6 separate regions of the Homo sapiens genome follow, and regions 1, 2, 4, 5 and 6 are each linked to region 3. Evidence: promoter capture Hi-C in 16 types of primary human blood cells and fetal thymus (Javierre and others, 2016). All regions are on one chromosome and are shown on one strand. The core of a region is centred on a gene start or on the middle of the fragment in contact, and the rest is flanking DNA. Distances in the headings are between cores, read along the strand shown.

What was found. Contacts are between HindIII fragments. The CHiCAGO score rates a contact against its expected background, and 5 or more counts as called.
Region 1: a contact is called between a fragment that was not itself captured here and the fragment with the promoter of DNAJA2 in region 3, in 1 of 17 cell types (endothelial precursors). The highest score is 6.5, in endothelial precursors.
Region 2: a contact is called between a fragment that was not itself captured here and the fragment with the promoter of DNAJA2 in region 3, in 1 of 17 cell types (total CD8 T cells). The highest score is 5.7, in total CD8 T cells.
Region 4: a contact is called between a fragment that was not itself captured here and the fragment with the promoter of DNAJA2 in region 3, in 1 of 17 cell types (non-activated CD4 T cells). The highest score is 6.2, in non-activated CD4 T cells.
Region 5: the fragment with the promoter of LONP2 here is called in contact with the fragment with the promoter of DNAJA2 in region 3 in 1 of 17 cell types (naive CD8 T cells); the score reaches 7.3 in naive CD8 T cells.
Region 6: a contact is called between a fragment that was not itself captured here and the fragment with the promoter of DNAJA2 in region 3, in 6 of 17 cell types (M1 macrophages, monocytes, neutrophils and 3 more). The highest score is 13.0, in M1 macrophages.

The regions. Positions count from the first base shown.
Region 1 is chr16:48,124,608-48,127,803 of GRCh38, reverse strand. All of the region lies in intron 11 of ABCC12 (ATP binding cassette subfamily C member 12), which reads left to right. Among named protein-coding and RNA genes, the nearest start is that of ABCC12, 30 kb to the left of the region's middle. The HindIII fragment of the contact is 4,858 bases long and covers 1-3,196 here.
Region 2 is chr16:48,282,121-48,285,826 of GRCh38, reverse strand. All of the region lies in intron 8 of LONP2 (lon peptidase 2, peroxisomal), which reads right to left. Among named protein-coding and RNA genes, the nearest start is that of ABCC11, 36 kb to the right of the region's middle. RefSeq lists an enhancer at 2,039-2,565. The HindIII fragment of the contact is 1,807 bases long and covers 617-2,423 here.
Region 3 is chr16:46,971,836-46,975,093 of GRCh38, reverse strand. It overlaps DNAJA2 (DnaJ heat shock protein family (Hsp40) member A2), which reads left to right and starts at 1,420. Exons shown (of 9, transcript NM_005880.4): 1 at 1,420-1,599; 2 at 3,139-3,198. The coding sequence starts at 1,522. DNAJA2-DT (DNAJA2 divergent transcript) reads right to left here and starts at 1,322. Exons shown (of 2, transcript NR_186372.1): 1 at 969-1,322. RefSeq lists enhancers at 1,009-1,098, 1,159-1,228 and silencers at 1,659-1,708, 1,739-1,818, 1,969-2,018, 2,049-2,118, 2,469-2,548. The HindIII fragment of the contact is 5,496 bases long and covers 1-2,768 here.
Region 4 is chr16:48,261,049-48,264,583 of GRCh38, reverse strand. It overlaps LONP2 (lon peptidase 2, peroxisomal), which reads right to left. Exons shown (of 15, transcript NM_031490.5): 5 at 2,997-3,160; 6 at 1,712-1,806. Among named protein-coding and RNA genes, the nearest start is that of ABCC11, 15 kb to the right of the region's middle. The HindIII fragment of the contact is 4,245 bases long and covers 1-3,535 here.
Region 5 is chr16:48,242,410-48,245,580 of GRCh38, reverse strand. LONP2 (lon peptidase 2, peroxisomal) reads right to left here and starts at 1,281. Exons shown (of 15, transcript NM_031490.5): 1 at 960-1,281. The coding sequence starts at 1,192. All of the region lies in intron 1 of ABCC11 (ATP binding cassette subfamily C member 11), which reads left to right. RefSeq lists an enhancer at 1,256-1,345. The HindIII fragment of the contact is 24,694 bases long and covers 1-3,171 here.
Region 6 is chr16:48,185,550-48,188,936 of GRCh38, reverse strand. It overlaps ABCC11 (ATP binding cassette subfamily C member 11), which reads left to right. Exons shown (of 30, transcript NM_001370497.1): 21 at 1,510-1,736; 22 at 1,847-1,984. Among named protein-coding and RNA genes, the nearest start is that of ABCC12, 31 kb to the right of the region's middle. RefSeq lists a silencer at 205-499. The HindIII fragment of the contact is 4,577 bases long and covers 1-3,387 here.

The DNA.
Region 1 (3,196 bases), core at 511-3,010, 1.2 Mb before region 3:
ACAGGCATGAACCACTGCTCCTGTCCTAGATATGTTCTTAATTTCACATTGGAATATTATGATAGATGATAATGACTGATAATTTTGAACACTACTATTTACCAGGTACATAATAAACTCACTTAACCACTTCAATAACCAGGCATCATAACTGCCCCTACTTGATGGTTGAGGAGCCTAAGGCACAAGAGGGTTAAATAGCTTGCCCAAGGTCACATAGCTAGCAAGTGGCAGAGGAGGGTTTCATACCCAGGGCACCTGGCTGCAGAGTCTGGGCTCTTAACCACCGGCAAAAACTCCTCTTGTAAAAAGCAAACTGAGATAACAAGCAACCCAGCCAAGGGCTAAGCCAGCCAAGCCAGCCAGAGTCTGTTTGTTGTTCTCTCCCCTCAAGATTGGGGGATGGAGATTTCAGGCAACGCTGTGGGTTTAGGGAATGTTTGGCCTCTTCCTGCATCTCCTGCATGCATCTCCTTCTTGCTCTGGGAACTCAGCAGCAGACTCCCAGGGTGGCAGTGTTGATTTTGCTGCAGAGGGCTCAACATTAATCTTGTGCCTGGTATTTTAATCTCTCATCCTGTTGACTCACTCTTTCCCTGTGCAAGCGCTATAGAAGGAGAGGTTCTTATTTATTATGCAATGTCAAGCTCAATAGCTGGTGTGAGAGTGGTACCTCTCATAGCTAACAAAGCTGTCTGCCACGTATTCATTGGAAACGATATTTAGTTGGCTGAGTGCAATTGAGCTCAGATTTCAGCTAAGTCCCATGAGTGCCACCTACTTTGCCTTCTCGCCACTCTCCCCGTGGAGCACCTGACTTCCCCCCGCCCTGCCTTCCCATGTGCCTCCAAGAGGCCTCCGTGAACTTCCCGTGTTCTAAGGACGCTGCTTTCTGGCCACGCAATGGCTTTGCTAATGTGCTATTCCATATGTCGGTGACTCTGGAATTCCTGCCTCAAGGATGCAGTCAATGTTTTGTGGAATAAATTGAAGATAAAGTGGGGGCAATGCATTGTTGCCTCTGGAGCAGTGGGGGCAATGCAATGCCTCTGGAGCCTGAGGGACCCCAGTTCCAGGCCCAGCCACTTCCTAGCTGCTTGACCTTGGATGTCTTGCTGAAGCTCCCTAAGCCTCTGTTTCTTTACCAGCACCATGCATTTCATAGAAGTACCCATTTCACAAGGTGGTGGGGGAACTCAGATACCACATAAAAATGCTAAGCCCATAGTAAGTCTTAGCTGATGTTAGGTATGATTGTTGCCTTTTTCTTTAACAATTATGTCCAGCTTAAGTGCTGCCCTCAAGTGTTCTACAGGGCATCCAGGTTTTTCCAAGTTTAGCTCCTCAATTCCATCAGACTGGATCCTCCATGGGGTCAGGGTTTTTTGTTCACAGTTATGTCGTTATCCCGAAGCCCAGCTCCTGGCTTGGAGGTGGCCAGCAGTGTTTGTTGGGAGAATCATCAGAGGATACAGGCCTCATGGATTTTCTGCTAAAGACAAGGATGAATCTAGAAGGCTTCTTACTTGGCCCCAAGAAGTGGATAGGACTCAAAGGGCAGCCAAATACCTGGTGAGGCTGCATCACATCTGCGGTCTCTTTAATGCCCCGGTTCATTGAAGTCCTTTTAGGGGAATTAAATAGATTCAGCTTCATTTCATGAGGCAGGAATTCCAGAGTCACTGACATATGGAATAGCCATTAGCAAAGTCATTGTGTGGCCAGAAAGTCCTTAGAACACAGGAAGTTCACGGAGGCCTCTTGGAGGCAAATGGGAATGCAGCATGGGGGAAGTCAGGTGCTCCACCGGGAGAGTGGCGAGAAGGCAAAGTAGGTGGCACTCAGTGGGACTTAACTGAAATCTGAACTCAGTTGCACTCAGCCAACCAAATTTACATCCATGTGGGCTCCACAAAGGCAGGGAGACCTCTGTGTGGATCACTATTTTATCCCAAGGTGCCTGGGATTCAGCAAAGACCTTGTTTAAGGAATTATTGATGACAGGCAGCGACTCTCATGTGCTGAGAATGGCAGACAGGGGATGGGCGTTTCTGGTCTAGCTTGGGGTGGGAAAAAAGCCATATTTGGCCCCATGTTGGGCATCTTTGCCCTAAGGGATTGCAGGGAGCAGGCCTACATGAGAATGTTCTCAGATGCTCCAAGTGCAGTATTGCAATATCTGCTTGAACATGAGTGGACATGCTTACACGTCAGTCTCCACATGGGCTGTTTGCCTGCAATGATTCTCCCCAGATACCCCATGGCACCCTTCCTCACCTCCTTCACGTCTTACCCAAATGTCACCTGTGGCAGATGTTGTCCCTGCCCATGTGCCCTGGACCTCTAAGTGTTTCCTGGCCATCTTACAACTGCCTTATCTGCATCCGTGCCCAAGGGCTCTGCACACCTCCATAAAGACCTTCACAGACTAGAGAGCAGCCCTCAAACAATGACTGCTGGGGCATCAATACCCCACCTCCTCTGCCATTGGGTGGGACAAAGCTATAGTCAGTTCCCCAGAGTTTCCTGCAGTTTCCCTGCAGGGTTGAGTTCCGTTTGCCTCCTGTGTAGGATATTCTGTTAGGGAGCCAACCCAATAGGCTGCCCTTTATGGGCCACCTTCCCTTTCCTGTATCACTTCTCCTCTTCCCTACTGGAATTTCCTGCACCTTCCAAATGTGAGTGTGACTTTCATTCAAATCCTTGATTCAAGGTCTGTTTCTGGGAAAACTCAAGCTAAGACATCTACCTTTCCAGTAAGGCTTTCCTTGTACCCCCAAGCCTCTAGCCCACTCCCTGTCCCTTCCCTGTCTCTTCCCTGCTTTATTTTTCTCCATGGCAAGCATAGATGTGCCTGCCCCACATTTCATTTGCTTGTCTTGCTTCCTGTCCATCTTCCCCTGACTACAAGGTAAGTTCTATGAGGGTAGACTCAGGCCATTGCCTGTTGTGTTCATTGCTGTTCTTGCTGGTGGTTGGAACAGTGCTTGGCACATAGCAGGCTCTGATAATGATTTGTTGGTTGAATTAATAAATCTGGAGCTGTAGAATGTTAGAATAGTGTAACTTCTCAGTAATTCCAGATTTTTGAAAAGCCCCTAGATGTCCATACTTCAAAAGCTACCCTAGTCCCCCTGGGTTGTACAGCCTTTTGCATCCCATTAGATTTGCTTTTCTGGAGTCTGGGCACAGAATA
Region 2 (3,706 bases), core at 271-2,770, 1.3 Mb before region 3:
GTGGTAAAAATGGGACTTTTTCTGTTATATTTACTAACATTTAAAAAAACTAAAGGAAATCATGTCTAAAGAATTACAGGAAAGTATGAGAATGATGTCTTGACAAATAGAGAATATAAACAAAGATAAATAATAAAAATTTTAAAATAGAAATTTTGGAGTTGAAAACTACAGTAATTTGAATGAAAAATTCACTAGAGGGGCTGAATGACAATTTCAGCTGGCAGAAGAAAGAATCAATGAACTTGAAGACAGGTCAACTGAGATGATCCTGTCTGAAGAATAGAAAGAAAAAAGGCTTTAAAAAAAGTGAACAGCACTTTAGAGACCTACGGGACTCCACAAAGATTACCAACACACCATAATACGAGTTTCAGAAGGAGAGGAAAAAGAAAGGGGCATAAAGAATATTTGAAGAAATACTGGCCACATACTTCTCAAATTTGATGAAAAACATTTACCTACACATCCAAGAAGCTCAAAAAGAACTAAGTAAACTCAGAGGATCACACATAAACACAGTCAATCTGTCAGAAATGAAAGACAAAGAGAGAATACTGAAAACTATGAGAGAAAAATGCTGCCCTCATTAGGCATAAGAGATCCGCCACAAGCTTAACAGCTGGCTTCACAGCAGAAACCACAGAGACCAGAAAGTGGTGAGAGGACATGCGAAAGGGCTGAAAGCAAACAATTGTCAACCCAAATTCTATACCAACAAAATTACTTCAAAAATGAAGGAGAAATTAAGACATTCCCAGAAAAACAAAAACTGAGAATATGTCACCAGGAGATGAGACAAGAAATATGAAAGACTGAAGTTTAAGGACACTAGACAGTATCCACACAAAGAAATAGAGCGCACTGGCAGAAGTGATTACATTGCAAACATAAAAGGCAGTGTAAATATATTGTTGACGTAACTTTTTCTTATCTGATTTAAAAGATAATGGCATAAAGCAGTAATTACAGTTGATCCTTATTATTCCATATTTGCAAATTTGCCTATGTGCTAAAATTTGCAACCCCTCCTCAATACAGGTATACCTCAGAGACACTGTGGGTTCAGTTCCAGACCACTGCAATAAAGCAAATTTTGCAACAGAGTGAGTCACATGTATGTTTTTTTTTGTTTCCCAGTGCATATAAAAGTTATGTTTACACAATATACTATAGTCTATTAAGTGTGCAATAGCATTATGTCTAAAAAACAATGTACATGCCTTAATTAACAAATACTTTCTTGCTATAAAATGCTAATCACCTGAGTCTTCAGTGTTAGTTGTTGTCATTTTGCTGGTGGAGTGTCTTGTCTCAATATTAATGGTTGATGACTGATCAGGTGGTGGCTGCTGAAAGTTAGGGTGGCTGTGGCGATTTCTTAAAATAAGGCAACAGTAAAATTTGCTTCATCTATTGACTCTTCCTTTCATGAAACAATTTCTTATAGCCTGCATTGCTATTCGATAGCATTTTGCCCACCGTAGAATTTCTTTCAAAATTGAAGTCAATCCTTTCAAACCCTGTTGCTGCCTTTATCAACTATGTTTATGTAATATTCTAAATCTTGTTTAGAATTTCAACAAGGTTCACAACATCAAGGTTGTCATTTCAACAAGGTTCATAGCATCCTCACCAGGACTAGATTCCATTTCAAGAAACCCGCTTTCTTTGCTCATCTGTAAGAAGCAACTCCTCATCTGTTCAAGTTTTACCATGAGATTGCAGTATTTCAGTCACATCTTTGGGTTCTAATTCTAGTTCTCTTGCTATTTCTACCACAACTGCGGTAACTTCCTCCACTGAAGTCTGAACCCCTCAAAGTCATCCATGAGGGCTGGAATCAACTCTTCCTGAACTCCTGTTCATGTTGATATTTTGACCTCCTCCCGTGAATCATGAATGTTCTTAATGGCATCTAGAATGGTGAATCTTTTCTAGGGGTTTTCAATGTACTTCGCCCTGATGCATGGGACGAATCATAATCTATGGGAGCAATAGCCTTAAAAAATGTGTTTCTTAAATAATAAGACTTGAAAGTTAAAATAACTCCTTGATCCATGGGCTGCAGAATGGATGTTGTTTTATAAGGAATGAAAACAGTATTAATCTCCTTGTACATCTCCATCACAGCTCTTGGGTGACCAGAAGCATTGACAACGAGCAGTAATATTTTCAAAAGAATCTATTTTTTTTGAACGGTAAGTTTCAACAGTGGGCTTAAAGTACTTAGTAAAACCATGCTATAAACAGATGCATTGTCACCTAGGCTTTGTTGTTCCATTTACAGAACAAAGGCAGAGTAGATTTTGCATCATTCTTAAGGGCCTTAGGGTTTTCAGAATGGTCAATGAGCACTGGCTTCATCTTAAAGTCACCAGCTGCATTAGCCCCTAACAAGAGTTAGCCTGCCCTTTGAAGCTTTGAAGCCAGGTACTGACTTCTCTAGCCATGAAAGTCCTAAATGACACTTCTTCCAATACAAAATAAGGCTGTTTCATCTACATAGAAAATCTGTTTTTTAGTGTAGCCACCTTTATCAATGATGTTAGCTAGATGTTCTGGATAGATAACATGATGCAGCTTCTACAATACATCAGTACTTGCTGCTTCCCTTTGCACTTTATGTTGTAGAAATGGCTTCTTGCCTTAAATCTCATGAACCAACTTCTGTTAGCTTCAAATTTTTCTTCTGCAGCTTTCTCACCTCTCTCAGCTTTCATAGAACTGAAGAGCCTTAGGGCCTTGCTCTGGACTAGGTTTCGGCTTAAGGGAATGTTGTAGTTGGCTTAATCTTTTATCCAGACCACTAAAACTTTCTTCATATCAGCAATAAGGCCATTTCACTTTCTTATCATTGGTGTGTTCACTGGAATAGCATTTCTAATTTCCTTTGAGAATTTTTCCTCTGAACTCACAACTTGGCTATCTGGCACAAGAGGCCTAGCTTTCAACATGCCTTCCTCACTAAGCTTAATTATTTTTAGCTTTCGATTTACAATGAGATGTGTGACTCTTCCTTTCACTTCAACACTTAGAAGCCACTGCAGGGTTATTACTTGGCCTAATTTCAATATTGCTGTGTCTCAGGGAATAGGAGCCAGAGGAGAGGGAGAGAGAAAGGGGAATGCCTGGCCAGTTGAGCAGTTAGTACATACTCAACATTTATTGATTAAGTTTGCTGTCTTATATGGGTGCAGTTTGTGGTGCCCCAAAACAATCACAATAGCAATACCAAAGATCACTGATAACAGATCATCATAATAGATATAATAATGAAAAAGTTAAAAATATTGCAATAACTACCAAAATGTGACATACAGACATGAAGTAAGATGTTGGAAAAATGGTGTCAACAGACTTGCTTGACACGGGGTTGCCATAAACACTTTCTTTCTTTTTTTTTTTTTTTTTTTGAGACAGAGTCTTGCTCTGTCACCCAGGCTGGAGTGCAATGGTGCGATCTCAGCTCACCGCAACCTCTGCCTCCCGGGTTCAAGCTATTCTCATGCCTCAGCCTCCTGAGTGGCTGGGATTACAGGCATGCACGACCATGCCCAGCTAATTTTTGTGGGTTTTTAGTAGAGACAGGGTTTCGCCACGTTAGCCAGGCTGGTCTTGAACTCCTGAGCTCAGGCAATCCACCCGCCTCGGCCTCCCAAAGTGCTAGGATTACAGGCGTGAGCCACTGTGCCTGGCCTGCCAT
Region 3 (3,258 bases), core at 171-2,670:
GCCTGAGCGACATAACGAGACGCTGTTTCAAGTAAAAAAAAAAAAAAAAAAAAAAAAACAAAAGAGTTCGAGATCCTACCACAAAAGGTACAAACGAAGGGTGGTGGGAACTCGAATGAGATAGCAGTGTTCACCAGTGCCCAGTAAAGGAAGACTTCACAGAGGGAGCAGGATTTCAGATGGGATTTGAGGAAAAGGGTTTAAGGACTATTAATGACTTATCACTGATTACTCTTAGGGTTTTCAAGCTAAATTTCAGAGTCCTTGTCATGGAATTCAGGCCCTCCACAACTAGGTCAAAGGGAACGCCAAGGAAGAAACATTATCCTGAGTGAGATGCTTATGCTGAAGTCTTTGCTATCAGTTCAGGTTCCAAGGGATCAGAAAACCTTACTTTTCTGTCTCCATAAACCGTAAATGGGTTGAAGGCAGGCACTTTTGTAACACTCCTCTCCCCGGACCAGGCCTCTGTACATCATAGCACTTGGTAGATGCACAGCATACTTTCTGAGCGAAACTAAAACGAATGTAAATCAAGTCACCTGGTGGCCAGACTTGCCTTACACCATCTAAACCTCTGGTGTTAGCTAATTTTAAAGCTATCAAGTAAGAGGCTTAAACACGTGGTCCAGATGCAACATGTGGACCTTGGTTTGGACCCGGATGCCACAAACCAATTGTAAAAGGACATGAGATCATCTGAAAAACCTAAATATGGACTGGGAATTAGATTAAGGAATTGTTAATTTCATTAGATGAGATTACATCGTTATGCCTTTAAAAGTTGTCTCTTAGATATTAAATATATACACTTAGGGTATTTATGAATGAAACGGTTTCCCTTAAAACACTAGAAATGTATGGTGGAGCCAATGAAACAGGTAAAAGGTAGCTAACTGCACTATGGGGAGTAATATACTGCTTCTGCTAAATGTTTCAGAATTCTCATAATATAAAACACAACATACACACACACGCGCCCCCCAGTTTTTTTCATCGTAAGCCCCGAGGGAGCCAGACCCAGAGGGTCCACCGACGTCCCGGATTCTAATAACGACATCTGCGCGCCAGGCGGGCCTCCTGCGGGAGCCGGGGCCCATTTTCTTTCGAAGCTAACGAAGCTGCTGCGCAGGCCTGTTAATTCCCTCAGCAGCCAGTGCGAGGTTAAACACGCGACCTCGCAACCATGGCTTTTGAGAGGAAGCTGAATTCCTGGGGTGCGCCGTGCACAGTTCTTCATTTCCTACGTTGGCCCTGCCCAGCCGCCTGGACCTGGAGGAAAACAGAGAACCTGGCCCACTCTTCAATACTTCGACCCCAGTGGCCGCGCCTCGGGCGCTCGGGGGCGGGCTCTGCACAGCGACGTCACGGCGCACCGTGCGCTGGGTCAAAGTTCAGCCCCGCCCCCGCTTCCCCCTCGCTGTCTCCCTCGGCCTGTGCCGCCGCCGACGCCGCTTGTGGGCCCGACTCCGCTCTGTCTGCTTCGCCACCTTCTCCCCGAGCACTGCCCGGCCGGCCGCCATGGCTAACGTGGCTGACACGAAGCTGTACGACATCCTGGGCGTCCCGCCCGGCGCCAGCGAGAACGAGCTGAAGAAGGTATCTGGGAGCGGGCCGGGCGGGTGTGAGGGGCGCGGGGCCTGCGCGGCCAGGGATGTCTTCTTCAGCCAGGCCGCGCTACTGGGCTGCCCGCGAGCCGGCGCCGGCCGTGACTGGCCCGGGCTGGGAGTCGGCGGCGGCGGCGGGACCGGCCTCGCCGCGAGCCGCGCACTCCGGCCTCGGCTGACCTTGGGGCCGCCGGCCCCGCCCGCCCGCAGATGCAGCAAATAAAACTCACTCCTGCGCAAACACGATGGGAGCCCTTCCTTCCTCCCTCCTTGAACGAGCGCCGGGGGCTGGTATCCCCCGGGAGGCAGCAGCTCGCCCGGTCCTTCGCGTCGAGGTCACCACCCCGGAAAAACAGGTTGGACCGAGGTGCTCAGCGCATCCCGGCCCCGAGAGAGAAGCTGTCCGCCCCGCGGCCGTCGGCCCCGGGTCTGGTGCTCCGCGGGGAGGAACGGCGGGGAGGTCGAGGCCGCCCCCACAGAGCGCCTCGGGCGGATGGGGTTGTTTCCTGGGTTCCGCGGCCGCCGGCTGCGGGAGCTCCTCCCTCTCTGCGTCCCTCGCCCATTGACCCGGAGGTAGCTGGGTCTGTGTTTGGATGCATTGTTCTTTGGGCAGGTAATGCTAATGTCCTGTACCTGCTTAGGAATAAGCCGTGGTCCCAGCCAAACGCCTGAGTGTACAGTAAACATAAATAGAAGGCCTTATTATTGCTATTTGCAATGCTGCGATATCTTTCATCTCAGGATTTCAAAGCACACGAGGCATTTAAGCCCCACAGCATCCTCACCAGGCTAAGAGCATCCAGATTTGTAAGCCGAGAAAAATGAGAATGCTCCTTAGGCAGTGAGAAGAGTACAGTGGACTTCCTGTTACCTTACCGGAAATGCTAGTCTGTATTATATAATTCACGAGCCTCCGTGAATGAAGATTTAAGTGCTTTAGGACCCAAACACCTCGTTGAGAGTGTGTGCAACTTCTCTACCACCGAAGTTGCCACCACGACCCCAGTTAACCACCACGTGCAAATAAAACACCAAAAGACGCTAACTAGGACCACCTTTACTTTTTCATGATGTTACAGTTAGAAGGAAGGCGTGAGCCATCGGGAGCAGGAATTGTGACTTTAGCTTGATTTATAGTAATGTTTTGCAGTCCGCAAAGCTTAACAGTCATTTATCTCGAATTTATTAGGGTCGTCTTGGTCTGGTTACTTGGCCATCAAAGACACTTGACAATAGGGAAAATATGGATAATGTTTGAACGTTTTGTTTTTCCCTGTGGCATTGCTTCATTGTTTTATCTGGTTTTCACGTCACTGTAACCTGTTTTCAAGTATAGCTGCTGTCTACTTGGTTATATTACATTAGTAAACAGTATCGCGAGAAAGTGCCGAAGAATCCCTACGAATAGAAAATATTTTTGAAAGGTTATAACTCTAGAACATTACTTCTCAGAAAAGTGGATATTAAGTTATTACAAAACTTTTAACTGGTGTTTAGTTATAACCTTTTTTGTTTTTATCCATTTTCAAAGGCATACAGAAAGTTAGCCAAGGAATATCATCCTGATAAGAATCCAAATGCAGGAGACAAAGTAAGTTATTTGCACCTTTTTTATTCCGGGGGTTTTAGCTTTAACTTAAATTGCCCTCCT
Region 4 (3,535 bases), core at 252-2,751, 1.3 Mb before region 3:
TTGCGTTAACTGCACAAATTGTACAGCATGTGTGTTTGTGCAATATGAAATCTGAGCACCGTGGAAAAAGAACAGGATAACAGCAATTGTTCAGGGAATAAGAGAGATAACCTTAAACTCTGACCGCTGGTGAGCCGGGCAGAACAGAGCCATATTTCTCTTCTTTCAAAAGCAAATGGAAGAAATATCGCTGAATTCTTTTTTCTCAGCATGGAATGTCCCTGAGAAACAGAATGCGCACCTAGGGGTAGGTCTCTGAACTGGCCCCCCCGGGGCGTACCTGTCTCTTATGGTCGAGATTGCAGAGGTGAGATAGACTCCAGTCTCCCATAGCGCTCCCAGGCTTATTAGGAAGAGGAAATTCCCATCTAATAAATTTTGGTCAGATCCGTTATCTCAAAACCCCGTCTCCTGATAAGATGTTATCAGTGACAATGGTGCCCGAAACTTCATTAGCAATTTTAATTTCGCCTCGGAGCTGTGGTCCTGTGATCTCGCCCTGCCTCCATTTGCCTTGTGATATTCTATTACCCTGTTAAGTACTTGATGTCTGTCACCCACACCTATTCGCACACTCCCTCCCCTTTTGAAAATCCCTAATAAAAACTTGCTGGTTTTTGTGGCTTGTGGGGCATCACGGATCCTACCAACGTGTGATGTCTCCCCCAGACACCCAGCTTTAAAATTTCTCTCTTTTGTACTCTGTCTCTTTATTTCTCAAGCCAGCCAATGCTTAGGAAAATAGAAAAGAACCTACATGATTATTGGGGCAGGTCCCCCGATAACAGCCATTATGAAAACAGTATGGAAGTTACTAAAAAAGTTCAAATACAACTTACATATGATCCAGCAATGCCACCTCTGGGTAAACAGCCAAAGGAACTGAAATCAGGATCTCAAAGAGTTATCTGCACTTCCGTATTCACTGCAGTATTACTTACAATAGCCAAGATACGGAAATAACTGAAATGTCTACTGACACATAAGTGAATAAAGAAAATGTGGTATAGACACACAATGGAATATTATGCACCTTAAAAAAGAAGGAAATCTTGCCATCTGTGACAACATGGATGGACCTCTAGGTTAGAGGGCATCATGCTAAGTGAAATAAGCCAGACACAGAAAGACAAGTACTGTATGATTTCACCTATTTAATGCATGTGGAATCTAAAATAGTGAAACTCATAGAAATGGAGAGTAGACTAGTAGTTGCCACAGGATGAGAGGAGAAGGAAATGGGAGGTGATGGTTAAAGGGAACAAAGTTTCACTTATGCAAGATAAATAAGTTCTAGAGATCTACTATAAAGAAAAGTGCCTATCGCTAACAATATTGTTAATTTAACATTAGACCTTATGTTCAATGTTCTTACCACCAGCACCAAAAGAAAAAAGCCAATAATAATGATGATAATAATAATCACAAAAGAGGTAGGAGGAAACTTTGGAGGTGACGGATATGTTTATGGCTATGAAGATTGTGATGGTTTCATGGGTGTATACTTATTCTGAAACTCACTGAGATGTATTCATTAATTATATACAGCTTTTTGTACGACAATCACACTTCAATAAAATGGTTTCAAAAAAATTGAAAACAAAAATAATTTAACAGTACGACAATCAGTGGAGTAAATTTGAAATGAAAAATTGCATGAGCTTTCTGAGTGACAATTAGACTGCAAAACAGGTGTTATTTTTTGGCTTACCAGTTGTACTTTTGTTCCAAGGAAGTTCTACCATAAGTTCCAAATAATTTCTAGTCAGAGCATATTCTGGCATTGACTGAGGCATTTTTTTGAGTCTGTGGAGAAAGAATACACAGCAAACATGTTCAAGAACACAGAAAAATTCCATAACAGAAAAATCAAACACAGCTCTCTTTCTTGGTTAGATATATCATGCATGTTTAAACAAATCTGAAAAAGTTTTAAAGTATCCAGATAATAAAACGTTTATTTTGTTTTGTAATGTAATGATCACCACTCCTATCTCTCTCCCCAGCCTACTTAACTGCCCCTTCTGGAGTCCCACCAGGGAGGGGTTCTTCCCTTCTGCTCTGCTTTCTCTACAAAGTATTCTCATATTTTCTAAGTACTTAAGGTACTTACAAAACAAAATAAGGCAGATACCTGCAAACTGCAGGAGAAAACATTATATCTAATTCTAACCTGGAAATATGGCCTTACTAGTGTGTGTCCCTTTTAAGCTCACAGGGATAGTCAAGTGACATATATCCATTGGTTTACTTATCACAATAAGATGTAAGTGCCTAACTATGCATAATACAATACATTTTTTTTTGTATCAGAGATGAGTGAGGTCTGCTCATAAAAGCAAGCTAATATCATATATTTAATAACAAATGCTACTTCCATAATATATGCAATGCTTAGCAAAGTGTTCTGCACATAATAAATGTTCTACATATATTAACTAATGTCAGAGGCAATATAAAATACCCATCAACTACAATTACTAATGTTCTTAACTGTAAGCCTCAGAAAGTCAAATATTAAGTCACTAAGCATTCAAGCAGGCTCACTACAATTCACTAATAAAAGAAAATGTAATAAGAGTTATAAAGTTAAAAGTATGCAAAGGAAAAATGGCTTTCAGTTTAACACTGGGGATATCCAGAAAATGTAATCAACCCATATATCCTATTCTGTTATCAAGGTTTCCCTGTACTTTGTCTTGTACAAAGAGAAATGGACAGTCCTTGCCCTTGAGAGTTTATAATCTAGAGAAGAAAAGTCACATGTGAAGAATATGATGCTAACTGAACAAACATTACGTATAAACAAAGAAGCATGGTCTGTTCTTTCAGACAACAAAAAGGCAGCTGCAAGAGTTATATTGCCTGACAGCACACTGCAGGTGGAAGATTTGTATTATGTATCCTCAGTATTGGAGAAAAGAGTAGTGAAAGTGGTGTTAATCAGGAGTACCAAGAATGAAAACAATAATGAACAAATGCCTTTTATAATTTACCTCTTTATCTCTTTGACACAGACTTTATGGGCCTGCTCTGGCATACTAGATGTTCGTATTTTTTTCTCTAGCATGACAATGTCATCATTATCTTCATCTTCATCTTCATCTTCTAAAGTACCTGAGATATGTGTAATTCTCCTAATAGGGCGTATTGCTATAACCTAACATAGAAAGCAGAAAAGTAAAACCGTATGTCAAAATAAATTGGAAACGAAGTACCCAGGTACACATAAGATTATGACTGGTGCTGAATAAATATTTTTATGACTACAGTCTCTATCTTTAGGAAGTGAAGTTCAGAATGATAATCAAAAGGCAGTTGTATACAGAGAGGCAGCAGAATTGCAGAAGTAGACCAACGTAAGGTAGACATGATTCTTTGGTATATGCTTACAATAATACTTGCATGAGAAAACAAATTTCAAGGAACTGGATACTAGAAATAATTAAACCATCTAGGAATTACCTTTCTTTGAGCTACTATTGCAGCCACTATTTTCTTGAAATACATTACTTCTTACCATTTGGTGACTGAA
Region 5 (3,171 bases), core at 32-2,531, 1.3 Mb before region 3:
AATGCTAAAACAGACAATCGCAGCAAACCAGGACAACTGGCAATTCTATCATCTCAATTTGACGAGCCACATGCACTACACAGTACTGGACAGCAAAGTCATCCATCATGCATGGTGCAAAGTGGAATATACACATTATTCAATTTATTCTTCATAACTTGCCTAAGAGATGGATGCTGTCAGTTTCCAAATTGCAGAATAAAAGAAATAGAGGTTAAAGCTCTCACCCAAAGTCACACCAATAGGGCGAGGGTACTGGGCAATATAGTAGTAAGCCTGGGGCCTAAGAAATGTTATGAGTGAAGGAGCAGAGGTGAGAAGCTAGGAAAGTTCCAGAAAGGGGGACCAGCGAAAATGTGAGCAGTAAAGGCCCTTTACAAAGGGAAACAGAAGGATTAGGGGGAGAAGGAGAAGGGTGGCAGGGAGTATAGAAGAAAGGCACCCACAAATAGTGCAGTTTAGGAATGAAACAGGAAAAGTTAAAACTCACGGAGCAGAGAATGCCTCAGCGGACAAAAATGATGGGTGACAGAAAAGGGGAGGCGGATAGGAGTAAAGGGCAGTGGGGAGAAAGGTGAAAAGCGAAGGCAAGTGAAGGCAGAGATCACCGGGGAGAAAGAAAGGGCCTGGAAAGTTAAAAGCACTGGCCTAGGAGGCTGAAGACCGAGGGCGAGGAATTGCGGAGAGGGGGAAGAGGATTCAAATTAAATTATCCAGAACGGTAGGGAACTGCGTAGTTTCACCAGGTGTCAGGCACTACTTCATGAACGATCTCATTCATGGTCATGGGGCAGGTATCTGACATCCCCATTTTGCAAGTGATAGCACCAGAGAGGCGGAACCGAGCCGCGAAGGCCGCCCCGAACTGAGCCTCGCGCTCAAGGCAGGCCGTGGCCTGGGCCCAGGTCCCCGGAGGAGGCCGCGCCGCCCGCCGCCGCCGCGGGGGCAGCCAGGCCTACCTGTGCAGCGGCGGCAGGTCCTGCGCGTCGCTGGCGGGGTCAGGCGTGTTGGGGATGACGCCCAGGATGGTGCTTTGCAGCGACGTGCCCTTCAGAAGGCGGCTCCGCACCAGCTGCAGGTTGCGGGCCGAGTCCACGCTGGTGCGCATGGTGGAGCCGGGCAGCAGGACGCCCTCGTGGGTGAGCAGCAGCGGGAGGCGACTGGGGATCTGGATGGGGCTCACTGATGACATGCTGGCAGCCTTTCGCACTGGGGGCTGTCAAAAAGAGCCAGACAGACAGCTGCCCCCGGCCTGCCCCGCAGTCACCAAACCTCAGACCCGCCTCCACGCCTCCGCTTCCGGCTACGCGCTACGGTCCGTCCCCGGGCCCAAAAGCCATGGCTTCGCGCTGCTCTCTAGGAGAGCCTCCCGGTAAGACTTGAGCGTCCTACCTATGCGGAAAGACGTGCACTCAAGCGTGCAGCGACCTTCGCCTCACTTACAGAGTATATTTGGAAGGATGATCTTATTTGAATTGTATATACTTGAAGTGTTTTTAACGTTTTCTTCGATTTTTTACATATACTTGAAGTGTTTTTAACTTTTGATTCGAACTAATTATTTATTTATTTATTTATTTATTTATTCTGAGACAGATTCTCGCTCTGTCGCGGAGGCTGGAGTGCAATGGCGCGATACCCACGGCTTGCAGCCTCTGCCTCCCGGGTTCAAGCGATTCTCCTGCCTCAGCCTCCCGAGTAGCTGGGATTACAGATGCCCGCCACCACACCCAGCTAATTGTTGTATTTTTAGTAGGGAGGGGATTTCACCATGTTGGCCAGGCTGGTCTTTAACTCCTGACCTCAAGCGATCCGTCCACCTCGGCCTCCCAAAGTGCTGGGATTACAGGCGTGAGCCAACGTGCCCGGCCCGAATTGATTTTAGATGTACAAAACTACAGCAGAGTTCCTATATACCTTTCACCCAGTTTCGTCTGTTATCATCTTACATAATCATAGTTCAATGATCAAAACCAGGAAATTAACATTATTATCGTTTAACCTATAGGCCTTACCCAAATTTTGCCAGTTTTCCCACTAATGTCCTTCATTGGATCTGGTCCAGGATCCAATATCCAGGATCCTGTTGTGAAATCTCCTAGGTGTTTTGTTATGAAATCTCCTAGGTGTTCTCTAATCTGTGGCAAGTCCTCAATTTTTTTTTTTTTTTTTTTTTTTTGAGACGGAGTCTCGCTCTGTCACCCAGGCTGGAGTGTAGTGGCGAGATCTCGGCTCACTGCAAGCTCCGCCTCCCGGGTTCATGCCATTCTCCTGCTTCAGCCTCCCGAGTAGCTGGGGACTACAGGCACCCGCAACCACGCCCGGCTAATTTTTTGTATTTTTAGTAGAGACGGGGTTTCGCCATGTTAGCCAGGATGGTCTCAATCTCCTGACCTCGTGATCTGCCCGCCTTGGCCTCCCAAAAGTGCTGGGATTACAGGCCTGAGCCACTGCGCCCGTCCAATTTTTTTTTTTTTTACAACCTTGATACTTTTATTTTTTTTCTGTTTTTAATTTAATTTTATTTTTTATTATAGTTTAAGTTCTAGGGTACATGTGCACAACGTACAGGTTTGTTACATATGTATACATGTGCCATGTTGGTTTGCTGCACTCACTAACTCGTCATTTACATTAGGTATATCTCCTAATGGTATCCCTTCCCCCCCACTCCCCACCACCCAACGACAGGCCCCTGAGTGTGATGTTCCCCACCCTGTGTCCAAGTGTTCTCATTGTTCAGTTGCCACCTATGAGTGAGAACTTGCAGTGTTTTGTTTTCGGTCTTTGCGATAGTTTGCTCAGAATGATGGTTTCCAGCATCATCCATGTCCCTACAAAGGACATGAACTCATCCTTTTTTATGGCTGCATAGTATTCCATGGTGTATATGTGCCACATTTTCTTAATCCAGTCTATCATTGATGGACATTTGGGTTGGTTCCAAGTCTTTGCTATTGCGAATAGTGCCGCAGTAAGCATACGTGTGTGTGTGTCTTTATAGCAGCATGATTTATAATCCTTTGGGTATATACCCAGCAATGGGATGGCTGGGTCAAATGGTATTTCTAGTTCCAGATCCTTGAGGAATTGCCACACTGTCTTCCACAATGGTTGAACTAGTTTACAGTCCCACCAACAGTGTAAAAGTGTTCCTATTTCTCCACATCC
Region 6 (3,387 bases), core at 189-2,688, 1.2 Mb before region 3:
ACATTTAGTAACCGTCAAAATGTCCTTCCCTCCTCTTTCTTTGAGTTTGGCTTTAATAAATGCCATTGGCTTCTATTCATTTCTACTTCTTGCATTATAGCTTGAGAAGTACATGGGGAAATGTAGGTGGTCATTTGGTCAGTGCCATGAACCTTTAAGAAATTGCCTTCTGTGAAGAGTGACTGTGCCAGGCTTGGGGAAGCCTCAGAAGGCCTAATTGGATCATGGTTTTGCCATTAACCACTTGCGTAATGAGTAAGTTACAGAGCCACTTCCTCTTCTGCAATCTTCAGTTTCCTCATCTGCAAAACAAGGACACCAAACTAAATGCTTTTGTTAGAGCCTACCTTGTGGTTTGACATGTCCTTTGATCTCCGAAAGGCCTCATGGCCACTGGCTGTTAGAGATCAACTTGCAGGTGCCACCCTCAAGAAGGGGGCAGTTAAGGCTAAATTTGATCCAAGGGTCCAAATCGTGTGCAACCCAGTAGGATTGCTGCTCCTAATCTTTGGCAGTCCTGAGTGAAAATGGTCCCATCTGTAGAAAATAATAAGAGCTGGTATTGGTAGAATGCCCTACTGGGGGTGATGGAGGGCAGGTAAACCCCAGACTGGGGCTTAGTCCATGAGGGTTCTTGGCTTTGCCCAGGAAAGAATTCAAGGGCAAGCCAGTGGTAGGGTAGAAGAAAACAGCTTTACTGAAGTGTCACTGTTGCAGTTCTGGCAGTGTTGCAGCTCTGTGACTGACCCTGCAGAGCAGGGCTACCCCGTAGGCAGTGTGCTGAGAGCTGCAGCTCAGGGCAGGTTTGCAGTCATATTTATACCTACTTTTAATTACATGTAGATTAAGGGACAGTTTATACAGAAGTTTCTAGGAAAAGGGTGGCAACTTCCAAGTCATCAAGTCATTGATGACCCAGAAAGAGGCGGTAACTCCTGGGTGTTGCCATGGGAATGGTAAACTGACACGACACACTGGTGGGCCTGTCTTATGGAAAGTGGCTTCCACCCCACCCCTGTTTTAGCTAGTCCTCAATTTGGTCTGGCGTTCAAACCCTGCCTCCAGAGTCAAGTCTCACCTCCTACCTCAGGGGCAGGCACTGCTCTGAGCATTTTTAATGTATTCTCTCTCTCTCTAATAGCTTTACAGGATATAATTCATATACCATACATTCAGCCTTTTAATTATACACTTCAGTGTTTAGTATATTTGAGGAGTTGTGTGATCCTCACTACAACTCTGTGAAGCATCGTTTTCATTCCCATTTCGCTAACGAGGACCTTGAGACTCAGAGGAACTCAGTACTTGCCCGAGGTCAGACAGCAGTAGGTGGAGGAGTCAGGTAGCCGTGGAGCCCATCCATGCTTTTAAATCATTGCTCTACATTGCCTGCCCTGGAGACCCCTGGGATCCGTGGCTCTTTAGAGTCAAGGGTAACAGGCATCTTCATCCAATCTTGAGCAGGGCCTGCAGCTTCTCTCATGGTCTGCGTTGATTTTGTCCCTGCAGGTTTTCCGCTGCCCCATGAGTTTCTTTGACACCATCCCAATAGGCCGGCTTTTGAACTGCTTCGCAGGGGACTTGGAACAGCTGGACCAGCTCTTGCCCATCTTTTCAGAGCAGTTCCTGGTCCTGTCCTTAATGGTGATCGCCGTCCTGTTGATTGTCAGTGTGCTGTCTCCATATATCCTGTTAATGGGAGCCATAATCATGGTTATTTGCTTCATTTATTATATGTGAGTAGGTTCTTTTTGCTTGTGACTTGGGGAGCAAGGCTGGGACCAACCCAGACTAGATGGTCCCAGAGGTGGACGGTCCAGGTCCCTTACCTCCACTGTCCATGCAGGATGTTCAAGAAGGCCATCGGTGTGTTCAAGAGACTGGAGAACTATAGCCGGTCTCCTTTATTCTCCCACATCCTCAATTCTCTGCAAGGCCTGAGCTCCATCCATGTCTATGGAAAAACTGAAGACTTCATCAGCCAGTGAGTCCTTCTGCTGCCATTTGAGAATGATGGAACCACAGGGGTGGTGGGGAGCAGGGAAAGAATGGAGCGTCTGGGAGTGGCATCATCTTCAAAAGCATCAGAGAGCACATTGTTCGATGGACGTATTTCTCTGAGCCTCCAGAACCTGCTGAACCATTCTTTCATTTATAAGAATGAAAAATGTAAATGATAGGAAAAATGTTTGTAAACTTTAAAGACCTTGTATATATTGTGTATATATATATGGACATATGTATACATACATTTAATGATAAGGTGCATTACTGTGCAAACACATCTTGCATTATGTTATTTCTTTCACTTCCAAACAAATATCTATCTTTAACAAAATAATGAGGAACAATAGCTTTCTAAATAATAGAACTTCCTTCACTACTCATGCCATAGATTTGCCCCCTAAATGTTGAAACAAACAAGCAAACAAGTCCTGTGATTGTTGTTGAGGTTTAATGGTGTAACACGAACTTATCTGTTTGTAGAGAATAATCAAGCACGGTCTTCACCTACAAGAAGTTCATAGTCTGGTGGAAAAAGGGAGAAACAGGCACATGTTTTTGTAATTATACGTGATTGAAGAAGGTAGATAGCATAAGAGAGGGGCAGATAAACTGCTTGGGAATTCAGAGGGGAAGGAGGTGGCCTGGGGGAATCAGATAAGGCTTTCGGGAGGAGGTGGCATCTGAGCTGGCCTTGAAGCCTGGGTAAGACTTGGGCACACATTTGGGAGACGGTATGTGCTCAGTTAGCTGGAATATTGGATTAATTGTGGCACCTGCTCTCTCAGTGGCATTATAGACCACTCAAGGTCTGTGCAGACTCTAGGACTGAGGGGATCCTGGAGCGGTGCATTCATTCAGCCCACACTGAGAACCCTGCCCCAAGGTATATACTAAGATAAGCAGATGAAGAGAGTCTGGAGGGATTGGAGCTGTTGTTGGGGAAGGTGTCAGAGAAAAGGACCCTGAGATGAAGTGTGGGTTGAGCTATGGAAATATGTGGGTAGGAGCTCTCCAGGCAGAGGGGACAGTAAATGCAAAGACCATGAGATGGGGGAAGTAGGTTTGAAGGATAGCAAGGTGGCTTGAGCACAGGGGCCACAGAGTGACCAGGGTCTGTTGTGTTTAATCTGGGAAGGCCTCAAGGTGGAGGTGACTCAATCAGTATAGAAAGGTAAGGTGGACAGAATTTGGAATGTCTTATGCAAAGGTTCAGAGGGTATGGACAGAGTGAGTCAGAAGGGCCACTCTGCTGGGGTGATAGCCCACTCAGATGGTAAGATGGTTTTAGTTGATGAGTAAATGAATATTTAATTTCAATAATCAAAGGTTTATTTGAATGTACTTTAGAAAAAATGCAACTAACATATCAAACCCATTATT